2 separate regions of the Homo sapiens genome follow, and region 2 is linked to region 1. The links are contacts of gene promoters, found by promoter capture Hi-C in human tissues and cell types (Jung and others, 2019). All regions are on one chromosome and are shown on one strand. The core of a region is centred on a gene start or on the middle of the fragment in contact, and the rest is flanking DNA. Distances in the headings are between cores, read along the strand shown.

What was found. The method cuts DNA at HindIII sites, captures the fragments that hold promoters and counts their contacts. A contact is called where the count stands out against the background at its distance.
Region 2: a contact is called between a fragment that was not itself captured here and the fragment with the promoter of AAR2 in region 1, in 1 of the 25 tissues and cell types used here (mesenchymal stem cells).

Annotation. Positions count from the first base shown.
Region 1 is chr20:36,233,468-36,240,042 of GRCh38, forward strand. It overlaps AAR2 (AAR2 splicing factor), which reads left to right and starts at 3,011. Exons shown (of 4, transcript NM_001271874.2): 1 at 3,011-3,036; 2 at 6,354-6,575. The coding sequence starts at 6,402. It overlaps LOC105372602 (a long non-coding RNA gene), which reads right to left and starts at 2,999. Exons shown (of 3, transcript XR_936695.2): 1 at 2,891-2,999. The HindIII fragment of the contact is 11,137 bases long and covers 1-6,575 here.
Region 2 is chr20:36,076,733-36,083,307 of GRCh38, forward strand. It overlaps the pseudogene HMGB3P2. Among named protein-coding and RNA genes, the nearest start is that of NORAD, 29 kb to the left of the region's middle. The HindIII fragment of the contact is 7,705 bases long and covers 1-6,575 here.

The DNA.
Region 1 (6,575 bases), core at 1,761-4,260:
CTCATACCACCTGTCCCATTATTCACTTATTTTTCTTTAAATTGACTCAGGTCAAGTGCAGTGGCTCACGCCTGTAATCCCAGCACTTTGAGAGGCTGAGGCAGGCAGATTACCTGAGGTCAGGAGTTCAAGACCAGCCTGGCCCACATAGTGAAATCCCATCTCTACTAAAAATACAAAAAATTAGCCGGGTGTGGTGGTGCACACCTGTAATCCCAGCTACTCGGGAGGCTGAGGCGGGAGAATCGCTTGAACCCAGGAGGCGGAGGTTGCAGTGAGCCGAGATCGTGCTACTGCACTCCAGCCTGGGTGACAGAGAGAGACTCCGTCTCAAAAAAATAATAAAATAAAATAACTAACTAAATAAATTGACTCACGTTAAAAGCAAATGCATTTAAAAAGGAAACTATATTACTTCCACAAATGAAAAGCTTATGTTATTTGCCAAGAAAGGAGGTCTTCATAAAATAAATGCAAAAATATTAAAATTAACAACCACAATGCACTTAAAACCTAAACTCATCCCTTGGACCACCTGAGGTGCACACACCACACTTTCCTTTTATTCCACCAAGCAACTCACCTCAGCCCACCTTTATTGCTGCAAATCTCACCAGCGAGTCTTTTCCATGTGTATGTATTTTTCCAGAGTTGGTCATCTTGTACATACTTTTGTAAATACTTTAAAATATATATATGTACATATATGTATATATATGTACATATATATCTATATACACGTATATATATCCTGAGCATTTCCGTATACTTTCAAATACTAAATACTTATTTTCTTTGGAAAGGTAATTCATTAAATGATACAAAGACTATGCAGTGAAAAGTGATTCTTCAGCCTTCTCCAGATTTCTGTCTCTTGTCAGAGGCAATTGCTGCGAGGAACATTATGAATCCTTCTCTGAATTTTCCCTATAGGTCTCCTTTAGCAATCTGTTATCCCTAGGGTTCTGGAATAGGACTTGGTTTACAAACAATGGGTCTTCATATGATTCCTCAGGACCCCATACACCCTGATCCATATTTCTGTCTCCCATAAAGGACCATCCTGACTCGGCTTTTGTCGAATAATCAAAGGTAAGTTCACCCAGATTAGTGTTTTTCAACTGCATTGAGAGTGGGGAAATGACCCCTCCTCCTTTACCCCCAACCCCCGCCCCGGGGACATTTAGCAATGGTTGTCACAACTGAGGGGTGCTACTAGCTCTAGTGGGTAGACGCCAGGGTTGCTGCTAAACATCCTACAATGCACAGGACAGCCACATACAACAAATACTTATCTGGCCCCAAATGTCAATAGTGCCAAGGTTGAGAAATTCTGATCTAAATGGACATGTGACCCACAAGGTGGGACTCCTAGGCCACCATTTACAGCTTCTACAACCAGTGTTCAGTGTCCTGGAGTCTCTGAAAAGACGGTGAGCCCAACTGAAACAGGGAGCTTTGAGACCAGACCATAGAGCTCAGCACTTAAGACTGGGAGTGGGGAGGGGTGGAGAGGGAGCTGAGCTTCTTCATGCAGGAGATGAAACTTGACAGGACAGGCTGAGATTGGTAAGCATGACTGTGACTGATGGAGGCTGTCTCTGGTTAATCCTGCAGCAGCTCATTGTGATTAACCATGACTGCAGGGCCCGGTCTAGTCTGCAACCCACTAAGAGATAAATTTTGACCGAGACAGATTGGCGTGTCCAGCTGTCACTGAGGAAATGTGACAGACAAGCTAAGGAGCAGCAGCACAAGAGATAAGAACAGACAGCCCTTGGTTTGCATTCTAGCTCTGCCATTCTCTGGCTGTGTAACATCTCTTTGAACCTCAGTTTTCTCTTCTGCAAATTGGGAATACACATACCTTACAAGGGTTAGTGCAAGGATTATAAATACCCAAGTGGGCCGGGCACGGTGGCTCATGCCTGTAATCCCAGCACTTTGAGAGGCCAAGGTGGGCAGATCACCTGAGGTCAGGAGTTCGAAACCAGCCTGGCCAACAAGATGAAACCCCGTCTCTACTAAAAATACAAAAATTAGCCAGGCACGGTGGTGGGCGCCTGTAATCCCAGCTACTTGGGAGGCTGAGGCAGGAGAATGGCTTGAACCCAGGAGGTGGAGGTTGCAGTGAGCCGAGATAGCGCCATTGCACTCCAGCCTGGGTGACAGAGTGAGATTGCGTCTCAAAAAAAGAAATACCCAAGTGGCCTGCCCTAAAATCACATAAGCCAATTCTTGGCAATAAATCACTTAATATAGATCTCCTACTGGCTCTGTATCTTTGGTGGAACCCTGATTAATAGTGCAGGGTTAGACCCACAAATAGTTATTTATTAATACCAAATTATCATCATTATTAATTAAATGCATAATATATGTACTCAGCTGAGCTTTTGTGCCTGGCTTTGTGCTCGGTTCCAGGGAAACAGTGAGGAACAAGACAGGCAGATTCCTTCCCTAGTGCGTTGATAGCCTGACTGAGATGTTAGGACTTGGCCTGCAGGAAGGACACGGGGTGATAATGGCCAGAGGGACTGAGGTGGCGACCGCTGCTGCTGCAGCAGCGGAGGCTGACGCTGGTTCTCTCTGGGCTGGTGGCTGGGTTTCTGAGGCTCTCCCCGAGGGCTGAGTGTGACTGGAAGCTGAGACACTGTGACCGGGATAGAGACTGGCTGACAAAGACAGTGACCGAGCGCCTGACTGGCTACTTCTGAATAGTAGCCACTGGTACAAGCCTTGGCTGTGCTTTAGTGACCATGACTGCTTGAGCCCAAAGTAAGATGGCTGGTGGCTGTGTTTCTGGACGGGGATATAAAATGCATAGGTTAATGAAAGTTGTTCACAATTCAGAAGCTAAAACGAGAAACTAAGAATAACAAAAGGCAACCTTGCATCCGGCGGAACCTGCAGGCACGGGCCATTCTTCCCGCGACCCAGGGCTCTGCCGGACCGCTTCCCCCGTCGCTCCAGTCAGACGCCAAAGCTGGAGAACTTCCGGTGCGTTTCCGCTGTACCGGAACGTGGGGCGAGGCGGTGAGTGTGGCCTCCTGGCCTCTTTTTCCTTTCCTGATTCCTTGTGTATGTGTGGCTGGGCCGCCCCTCTTCTCGGCTCAGAGTCACGGAGTGCCTTGAACTAGGCCCACCTCGCCGGGGCGGCTGGTTCTCTGTTTGTGGGACGCTGGTGTCTCTGGAGGCCCTTCCTGAGAAGCCGTCGCCAGAGTTACGTCGCGGTTTTCTTAACTTTAGAGCCTGGGGGCCGGAGACCCTGATTGCACTCGACCTGGCTCTGCCCTACTCTCTGCGTGACTTCCAGTAAGGTCTTTCCCCGAACTGAGGCTTTGTTTCTCGTTTACAAAATGGATATCATACTTGTATTAAATAAATGTTTACTAAGCGTTGAATCTGTGCTAGGGATACAGCAGGACTCAAGTCTCGTGGCGATGACAGCCTTCAATCAAACATCCAAAACTGCAGTTGTGATCATTGAGACGGAAAGGTACAAGGCACCCCAGATTATATCACAGGAGACCTGACCTAGCCCCAGGGCAAGGAACCTTTACTGAGGAGGTGAATATTGAGCTGAGATCAGAAAAAAGGATTTGACAAAGTGGGGAGGGAAGAGTTTTCTATATGGAGACAGCCTCCAATTTCAGGTTCTGAAAGAGGCCGTTGTGGCTGGAACAGAGAGCTTGTGGGGGACCATTGTGTGACACAAGCTAAAGGGGTTGCCAGGAGTCAGACCGTGCAGGCTTTGTAGGTAATAGGAAGAATTCTGGTTTTTCAAGAACCATATGGGAAACCACTCAGAAGCTGACATGGGTGGTGTTGTGATTAGATTGGCATTTTGAAAAGGTTACTGCTGTTGAATGGAGAATGGGTTGAGGAGCAAGCACTCTGAGTGAGGGACGATGGTAGCTTGGATTAGGGAGGTGGTGGAGAGAAGTGGATGGATGTGACTTTAGGTGTTCCAGGACTGTGAGGAACTCACAGAGCTGTCAGTGACAGGGGCTGGTAGACTGCAGAGTTCTATGCATATTTAATAAACGTTTTCCTAGCATCTCCTCTGTGCTAGGCCCTGTGCCAGCTGCTGGAGATATAGTGAATAGAATTACAGACTGGTGGAATTAGCATGAAAGAAACGTCATTATCAAGGAGGAGCACACAGATGTCACAAGGGAAAATGGCTAATTGATGAGCTGTTATTGTAAATGGAATATCTGTTCATTCAGCAAATATTAAATACTTTCTGAATTCAGGATTACAAATAGGAAGATGATACGTATTATTATTATTATTATTATTATTATTATTATTATTATTATTATTATTTTGAGACGGAATTCGCTCAGACCCCCAGGCTGGAGTGCAGTGGTGTGATCTCAGCTCACTGCAACCTCTGCCTCCCAGGTTCAAGCAATTCTTCTGCCTCAGCTTCTCAAGTAGCTGGGACTACTGGCGCACACCACCATGCGCGGCTAATTTTTTTTGTATTTTTAGTAGAGATGGGGTTTCACAGTATTGGCCAGGCTGGTCTCAAACTCCTGACCTCATTATCCATCCGCCTCGGCCTCCCAAAGTGCTGTGATTACAGGCGTGAGCCACCACGCCCGGCCTGTTGATACGAATTATTTAGAGCAGAGTCTTTCAAACTTTTATGACTGTGACCTACAGTAACGAATACATTTTATGGCACAACCAAGTATACACACAAACACACAAAGCTCCAGAAAACAGTACTTAGCTTTACTACTCATGATGTATTGTGATATTTCAAAAATTCTGTTATTTTCGTTTAAAAAATAATGCTGGTTGAGACCTTCACATTGATTTCCTAATCCACTAATGGATTGTGACTTGCAGTTTGGTGAAACACAAAGTGCTGATTCAGGGTAAGAGTCATTTGTGGTGGTTTTGAGGTAACAATGATAAAATGTGCTCTTATTTTTGGAAAAGGATTGGTCTTCCTTTCTGCACTGCTTTATTTAAAGTAAAAAGGGTAAACAGGGCCAGGCATGGTGGCTCACACCTGTTATCTCAGCACTTTGGGAGGCCGAGGCGGGCAGATCACTGAGGTCAGGAGTTCCAGACTAGCCTAGGCCACATGGTGAGACCCTCTCTGTACTAAAAATACAAAACTTAGCCAGGTGTGGTGGCACACACCGGTAGTCTCAGCTGCTTGGGAGGCTGAGGCACAAGAATTGCTTGAACCCGGGAGGTGGACGATGTAGTGAGCCGAGATCACGCCACTGCACTCCAGCTGGGGTGACAGAGCGAGACCCTGTCTCAAAAAAAAAAAAAAAAAAAGTAAACAATTAAACAGGCAGCTCGTTTTTCTGTGTGTGAAATTTTGACGTCTTGGCTAGATTGGAATTGCCTAGAGGGCAGTGACTGTCTTAATCTGTGATGTTTTTTGGGGGCCTGGCAAAGATCCTGGCACAATGCAGGCACTCAGTGAGTATTTGTTAAATTAGTCAGGTAGGTATCTTAGGACTAGAAGGTTGCATAATGGTTTGTTTACATTTGTTCATGTTGGTACCATTCTTGCCGATATCCCAGAGGCAATGTCTGGGATATTCAGAAGTAGGTAAAATAAGTGTACTAAGCTCTTTCTCTTCTGGCCAGCTTTCTCTTCCTAGGCTAGCTTTACCACCTGAATTCATTCTGGATGAATGGTCCAGAGCCACCACTGATTGTGGGCTCTTTGGGAAGTTGTTTCACTCCCTGGAGTTTAGGTTTTTTATGAGTGAAAGAAGAGGGGAGATTTGTGGTAGGAAAGCTCTCTAGACCCTGAACAAACTTTAGATGCTGAGCCTCCACTTGCTACCGTCTGTCCATTTCTGGGCCTTCCCTGAGGCTTATGGGAAACTGGATATGTACTTGATTTAATCTTTCCAAATCTTTTGGGATAGTTTTTTGGCAGAATTGTAGTTTTAAATGATGTAGGCATATAGTTTAGAGTGACCTGTCCAGGCATTTTCCACCCTCACCCTCTGTTGTGAGAAAGAGATCTGAGAAGATATTAAGAATGGACGGTGGACAGAACACTGGCCTGCAGGCAGGGTATCCAGATTCTAATTTGGGTCCTGGTATGACCATGAGCATGTCACTTTTCTTTCACTGGTATCTTATAGCTGTGAAGTGAGTGTCCTTGCATGTTAAGCCAAAACACAAAAATCCTTTCCTTTAATCCTCGTTTTTCTCATCTGTAAACTCAATGCAGGGTTGTCATGAGGATTAAGGGAAATAATTATGTCAGGGGTCTAACTCAATATCTGGCACATACAGAATGCTTAGCAAATGAAGCATCTTTCCCCCACGTTCTGATTAACTCTGGTTTCTTTCTTTCTCAGCTGTTCATCAAAGAAAAAGGGTTCTTTTGGTCACCCACCACTGGCCCCATGGCTGCCGTGCAGATGGATCCTGAGCTAGCCAAGCGCCTCTTCTTTGAAGGGGCCACTGTGGTCATCCTGAACATGCCCAAGGGAACAGAGTTTGGGATTGACTATAACTCCTGGGAGGTCGGGCCCAAGTTCCGGGGCGTGAAGATGATCCCTCCAGGCATCCACTTCCTC
Region 2 (6,575 bases), core at 1,646-4,145, 160 kb before region 1:
CTGCAGGCGCTGCGGTGGCGGCCCCATTTTAACTTTTTTTTTATTTTTTATTTTTTGAGAGGGAGTCTCGCTCTGTTACCCAGGCTGGAGTGCAGTAGCGCGATCTCGGCTCACTGCAAGCTCTGCCTCCTGGGTTCACGCCATTCTTCTGCCTCAGCCTCCCGAGTAGCTGGGACTACAGGCACCCGCCACCACGCCCGGCTAATTTTTTGTATTTTTCGTAGAGACGGGGTTTCACTGTGCTAGCCAAGATGGTCTCAATCTCCTGACCTCGTGATCCGCCTGCCTCGGCCTCCCAAAGTGCTGGGATTACAGGTGTGAGCTACCACACCCGGCAAACTTAAAAAAAATTTTTTTTTTGAGACAGAGCCTCCCTCTGTCGCCAGGCTGGAGTGCAGTGGTGCGATCTCGGCTCACCACAACCTCCGCCTCCCGGTTTCAAGCGATTCTCCTGCCTCAGCCTCCCGAGTAGCTGGGATTACAGGCACGGGCCACCACGCCCAGCTAATTTTTGTATTTTTAGTACAGACGGGGTTTCGCCATGTTGGACAGGCTGGTCTCGAACTCCCGATCTCAGGTAATCTGCCAGCCTTGGCCTCCCAAAGTGCTGGGATTACAGACGTAAGCCACCACACCTCACCCATTTTAACTATTTTTAAGTATACAATTCAGTGACATTAAGTTCATTCACAAAGTAGTGTAATCATCACCACTTCCTATTTCCAGAACTTTTTCATCATCCCAAACAGACACTCTGTACCCATTAAACAACATTCCCCATTTTCCCCTTCCCTCAGCCTCTGGTAACCTCTATTTATTTTAATTTCTGTCTCTACGAATTTACCTATTCTAGATACTTCATATGAGTGGAATCATACAACGTTTGTATTTATTTTTGTTTGTTTGTTTGAGACAGAGTACAGTGTTGGGATCATAGCTCACTGCAGCCTCAACCTCCCAGGCACAAGTGATCCTCCCACCTCAGCCTCCTGGGTAGCTAGGACTACAGGCACACACCACCACACCTGGCTAATATTTAAAAATTTTTTGTAGAGACGGTGAAACAGGAACCCTCGAAGGGTGTGCAATGGGGGTGTGGCTTGCTTCTTCAGTGCCCTGCTGCTCAAACCTCTAGGGGAGCATACAGATGGGCAGGCTGTGGGGCTCCGACCCCACAGCAGTGTCTAGGGGTGAATGTTTACAGCTGAAGCCCCAATGGGCGTGTGTTATAGGGTGCTCTTTTAGGTTGCCATCTATAGGCGGCTTGTGTTAACCAGCTCAATTAAACCCCCTTCCTTACCACAAGGACAGAGGGATTTCTGTATCCTGGGGTTTCTTGCCTTGTTGTACCTGGAAGAACTGGATCACATGTGGGCTTGGAGAATGAGTGCAAGGTTTTATTGAGTAGAACTAGCTCTCAGCAGATGGGGGAGTTGGGGAGCCAGAAGGGAAATGGTTTTCCCCTGGAAATGTTCTCATCATGTTCACCAACATGGTGAAACCCTGTCTCTACTAAAAATATTTTTAAAATTAGCTGGGCATGGTGGTGTGCGCCTGTAATCCCAGCTACTCAGGAGGCTGAGGCAGGAGAATCACTTGAACCGGGGAGGCAGAGGTTGCAGTGAGCAGAAATCGAGCCACTGCACTCCAGCCTGAGTGACAAAGCAAGACTCCGTTTCAAAAAAAAATGTTAGTAAGGATGTGAAGAAAGTGAACCTTCATATATTGCTGGGGGACTGTCAAATAGTATCGCTGCTTTGAAGTTCTTCAAAAAGTAAAACAGAGTTACCACATGACCCAGCAATTCCACTGCTAGGCGTATATCCAAGAGAAATGAAAATGTATGTTCATAGGCGGGGCACAGTGGCTCACGCCTGTAATCCCAGCACTTTGGGAAGCCAAGGTGGGCAGATCACTAGAGGTCAGGAGTTCGAGACCAGCCTGGCCAACAAGATGAAACCCCGTCTGTACTAAAAATACAAAAATTAGCTGGGCGTGGTGTCAGGCACCTGTAAGCCCAGCTACTCGGGAGGCTGAGGCAGGAGAATCATTTGAACCAGGGAGATGGAGGTTGCAGTGAGCAGAGATCACGCCACTGCACTTTAGCCTGGGCGACAGAGTGAGACACTGTCTCAAAACAAACAAACAAAAACACAAAAAACAAAACAAAACAAAAATGGAGGCTGGGCATGGTAGCTCATGCCTGTAATCCTAGCACTTTGAGAGGCCGAAGTGGTCGGATCACCTGAGGTCAGGAGTTTGAGACCAGCCTGACCAACATGGAGAAACCCCATCTCTACTAAAAATATAAAATTAGCTGGGCATGGTGGCACATGCATGTAATCCCAGCTACTCGGGAGGCTGAGGCAGGAGAATCACTTAAACCTGGGAGGCAGAGGTTGCGGTGAGCTGAGATCTCGCCATTGCACTCCAGCCTGGGCAACAAGAGCAAAACTCCGTCTCAAAAAAAAAAAAAAAAAAAAAAAAAAAAGGGAGGTGGGGGGCACTGGCTGTGGTGGCTCACGCCTGTATTCCCAGCATTTTGAGAGACCGAGGTGGGTGGATCACCTGAGGTCAGGAGTTTGAGACCAGCCTGGCCAACATGGTGAAACCCCATCTCTACTAAAAATACAAAAAAATTAGCCAGGAGTGTTGGTGCATGCCTCCCAGCTACTCGGGAGGCTGAGGCAGAAGAATCACTTGAACTCGGGAGGCAGAGCTTGCAGTGAGCTGAGATGTGAGCCGAGATTGCACCACTGCACTCCAGCCTGGGTGACTGAATGAGACTTCGTCTCAAAAAAAAAAGAAAGAAAATGTACGTTCACACAAAAACTTGTACACAATGTTTATCGTGTTATTATTTCTTATAGCCAGCAGGTAGAAACAACCCAGATGTCCATCCACTGACGAATAGCTAAACAAAATGTGGTATATCCATACAGTGGACTATTATTCAGCCATAAAAAGGAATAACACTGATTCACACTACAACATGGATGAACCTTGAAAATCTTACGCTAAATGAGGGAAACCAATCACAAAATAACATATATTGTATGATCCATTTATATGAATAAATCAAGACAGAAAGTAGATTAGTGGTTGCCAAGGGATAGTAGGAAGTTGGGAATGGGGAATAACGGTTAATAGTGTGACTGCCCAGTGTGCTCACCTTGCCCACTGCCAAGACAGAGCCGATTTATCAAGACAGAGAAATTGCAATAGAGAAAGAGTAATTCATGCAGAGCCGGCTGTGCGGGATACCAGAGTTTTATAATTACTCAAATCAGTCTCCCCAAGCATTCGGGGAGCAGAATTTTTAAGGACGACTTGGTGGGTTGGGGGAAGCCAGTGAGCCAGGAGTGCTGAATGGTCAGGGATGAAATCACAGGGAGTCGAAGCTGTCTTCTTGAGCTGAGTCACTTCCTGGATGGGGGTCACGAGATCAGATGAGCCAGTTTATCAATCTGGGTGGTGCCAGCTGATCCATCAAGTGCAGGTCTGCAAAATATCTCAAGCATTGATCTTAGGAGCAGTTTAGAGAGGGTCAGAATCTTGTAGCCTCCAGCTGCATGACTCCTAAACCTTAATTTCTAATCTTATGGCTAATATTAGTCCTACGAAGGCAATCTAGTCTCCAGGCAAGAAAGAGGTCTGCTTTTGGAAAGGGCTGTTATCGTCTTTGTTTTAAACTATAAACTACGTCCAGGCACGGTGGCTCATGCCTGTAATCCCAGCACTTTGGGAGGCTGAGGCAGGTGGATCACTTGAGGTCAGGAGTTTGAGACCAGCCTGGCCAACATGGTGAAATGCTGCCTCTACCAAAAATACAAAAATTAACCGGGTGTGGTGGTGGGCACCTGTAATCCCAGCTATTCAGGAGGCTGAGGCAGAAGAATCGCTTGAACCCAGGAGGTGGAGGTTGCAGTGAGCCGAGGTCATGCCATTGAACCCCAGCCTGGGTGACAGAGTGAGACTCCGTATCAAAACAAAAACAAAAAAAACCTATAAAAACTATAAACTAAGTTTCTCCCAAAGTTAGTTCAGTCTATGCCTAGGAATGAACAAGGACAGCTTGGAGGTTAGAAGCATGTAGAGTCGATTAAGTTAGATCTCTTTCACTGTCTCAGTCATAATTTTGCAAAGGCAGTTTCAATAGGCATGGGATTTCTTTTTGGGGGTGATGAAATGTTCTGGAATTAGAGAGTGGTGATGGTTTCACAACTTTGTGGATATACTAAAAACCAACTAAATTGCACACTTTAAAATGATTAATTTTATATGTTAATTATATCTCAAGAAAAAGTACAGTATATGATAGTAGGCACCCATGTACATACTACCTAATTCCAGAAAAAAACTGTTACAAATACCATTGCAATTTCCTATGTACTGTTCTTCCATCCCATTCCCCTCCCTCTCTACCCAGAAGTGGCCACTACCGTGAAGTTGGTGTTTATCATGGCAATTGTCTTCATTTATTTGGGCTGCTATCACGAAATACTTTAGACTGAGTATCTTATACGCAACAGAAACTTATTTTTCACAGTTCTGGAGGTTGGGAAGGCCAAGATCAATGGGGTGAGGGCCTACTTTCTCACAGACTTCACGTTTTTACGGTGACCTCACATGGTGGAAGGGACCAGCTAGCTCTCTTAGGTCTCTTTTATAAGGGCAGTAATCCCATTCATGAGGGTACCCAATCATCTCCTAAAGGCCTCATCTTCTAACACTGTCACATTTGGGATTACGTTTCAATGTATGACTCTTGGGGACACACAAACATTCAGAGCATAGCAGTAATACATGTCTTTATAACTTTTAACAAATGTATGAGTATCCCTAAACAATATATAGCATTGCTTTGTATGTTTTTAAGCTTAATATACATCACATAAGTTGCATCCTCTGCAATATTCTTTTTTCCTACCAACATTATGTTTTTGAGAATTATCCATATTCTTTTTTTTTTTTTTTTGAGACAGAGTCTGGCTCTGTCGCCCAGGCTAGAGTGCAGGGTGTGATCTCGGCTCACTGCAACCTCTGCCTCCAGGGATCAAGTGATTCTCCTGCCTCAGCCTCCCGAGCAGCTGCGATTACAGGTGCCCACCACCACACCCAGCTAATTTTTGTATTTTTTTGTAGAGACAGAGTTTCACCATGTTGTTCAGGCTGGTCTCCAACTCCCGACCTCAAGTGATCTGCCTGCCTTGGCCTCCCAAAGTCCTGGGATTACAGGTGTGAGCCACTGTGCCCGGTGAATTATCCATATTCCTACCACTCACTGCTGTGTAGTATTTCATTATATGACTACACTATAATTTATTTTGTATATTTACCTATTGGTGGACATTTAGACTGTTTCTAATTTTTCAATATTTCAAACAATGCTTCAGAGAACATCTCCAACAGGTTTCCTTTTGTGCATGTTCATTTCCCTGGGTTTTATATTCAGGAGTAGGATTGCCGAGTCAAAGGCCTGCACATCTTCTACTTCGTTAGCTATTGCCACAAGTCCATTACTAGTCAGGTGGAGCGTTTTCATATGTTTATTGGCCATTTGTATTTCTTCAGTGGCTTAATGTTCACATCCTTTGTCCATTTACCTAATATAAATTTGTTAGTAATTCTTTACATATTTTCGAATTCTCATCCTTTGCCAGCCAAAACATTGCAGAGATTTTCTCCCATTTAGTAGTTTGTCTTTTTCCCTTTATGACATCTTTTGATGCACAGAATTTCTACATTTAATCTGGCTGACCATATCAAGTTTTTTCATTTTTGATTTGTATGATGATTAATTTTATGTGTCAATTTGACTGGGTCATGGCATGCCCAGATATTTGGTTAAACATTATTCTGGGTGTGTCTGTGAGGGTGTTTGTAGATGAGATTAACTTTTGAATCTGTAGACTGAGTAAAGCAGATTGCCCTTCCCAAGTGGGTGGGCCTCATTCAATCCATTGAAGGCCTGAACAGAACAAAAAGGTGGAGTAAGAGAATTCTTTCTCCCTGTCTCACTGTGCTCATGCTGGTACTTTTGTCGTCTCCTGCCTTTGGACTTTTTTTTGAGACAGGTTCTCGCTGTCACACACGTTGGAGTGCAGTGGTGGGATACCGGCTCACTGCAACCTCCGCCTCCTGGGTTAAAGCAATTCTCTTGCCTCAGCCTCCCGAGTTGCTGGGATTATAGACTCCTGCCACCACACCCAGCTAATTTTTTTGTATTTTTAGTAGAGATGGGATTTCACTATGTTGGCCAGGCTGGTCTCGAACTCCTGACCTCAAGTGATCTGCCTGCCTTGGCCTCTCAAAGTGCTAGGATTATAGGCATGAACCACTGCACCCGGCCTGTCTTTGGACTTTTATCTGGACCATTGGCTCTCTTGGTTCTCAGGCCTTTGGACTCAGACTAGAACTAAACCATTGGCTCTCCTGTGTCTCCAGCTTGCTGACTACAAATCTTAGGGCTTAGCTTCTATAACCACATGACCTAATTTTTTATAATACTCTCTCTCTATTCTATTGGTTCTGTCAGAGGCGTTTGAACCAGAGCAACTCCATCTTGAGTAGGT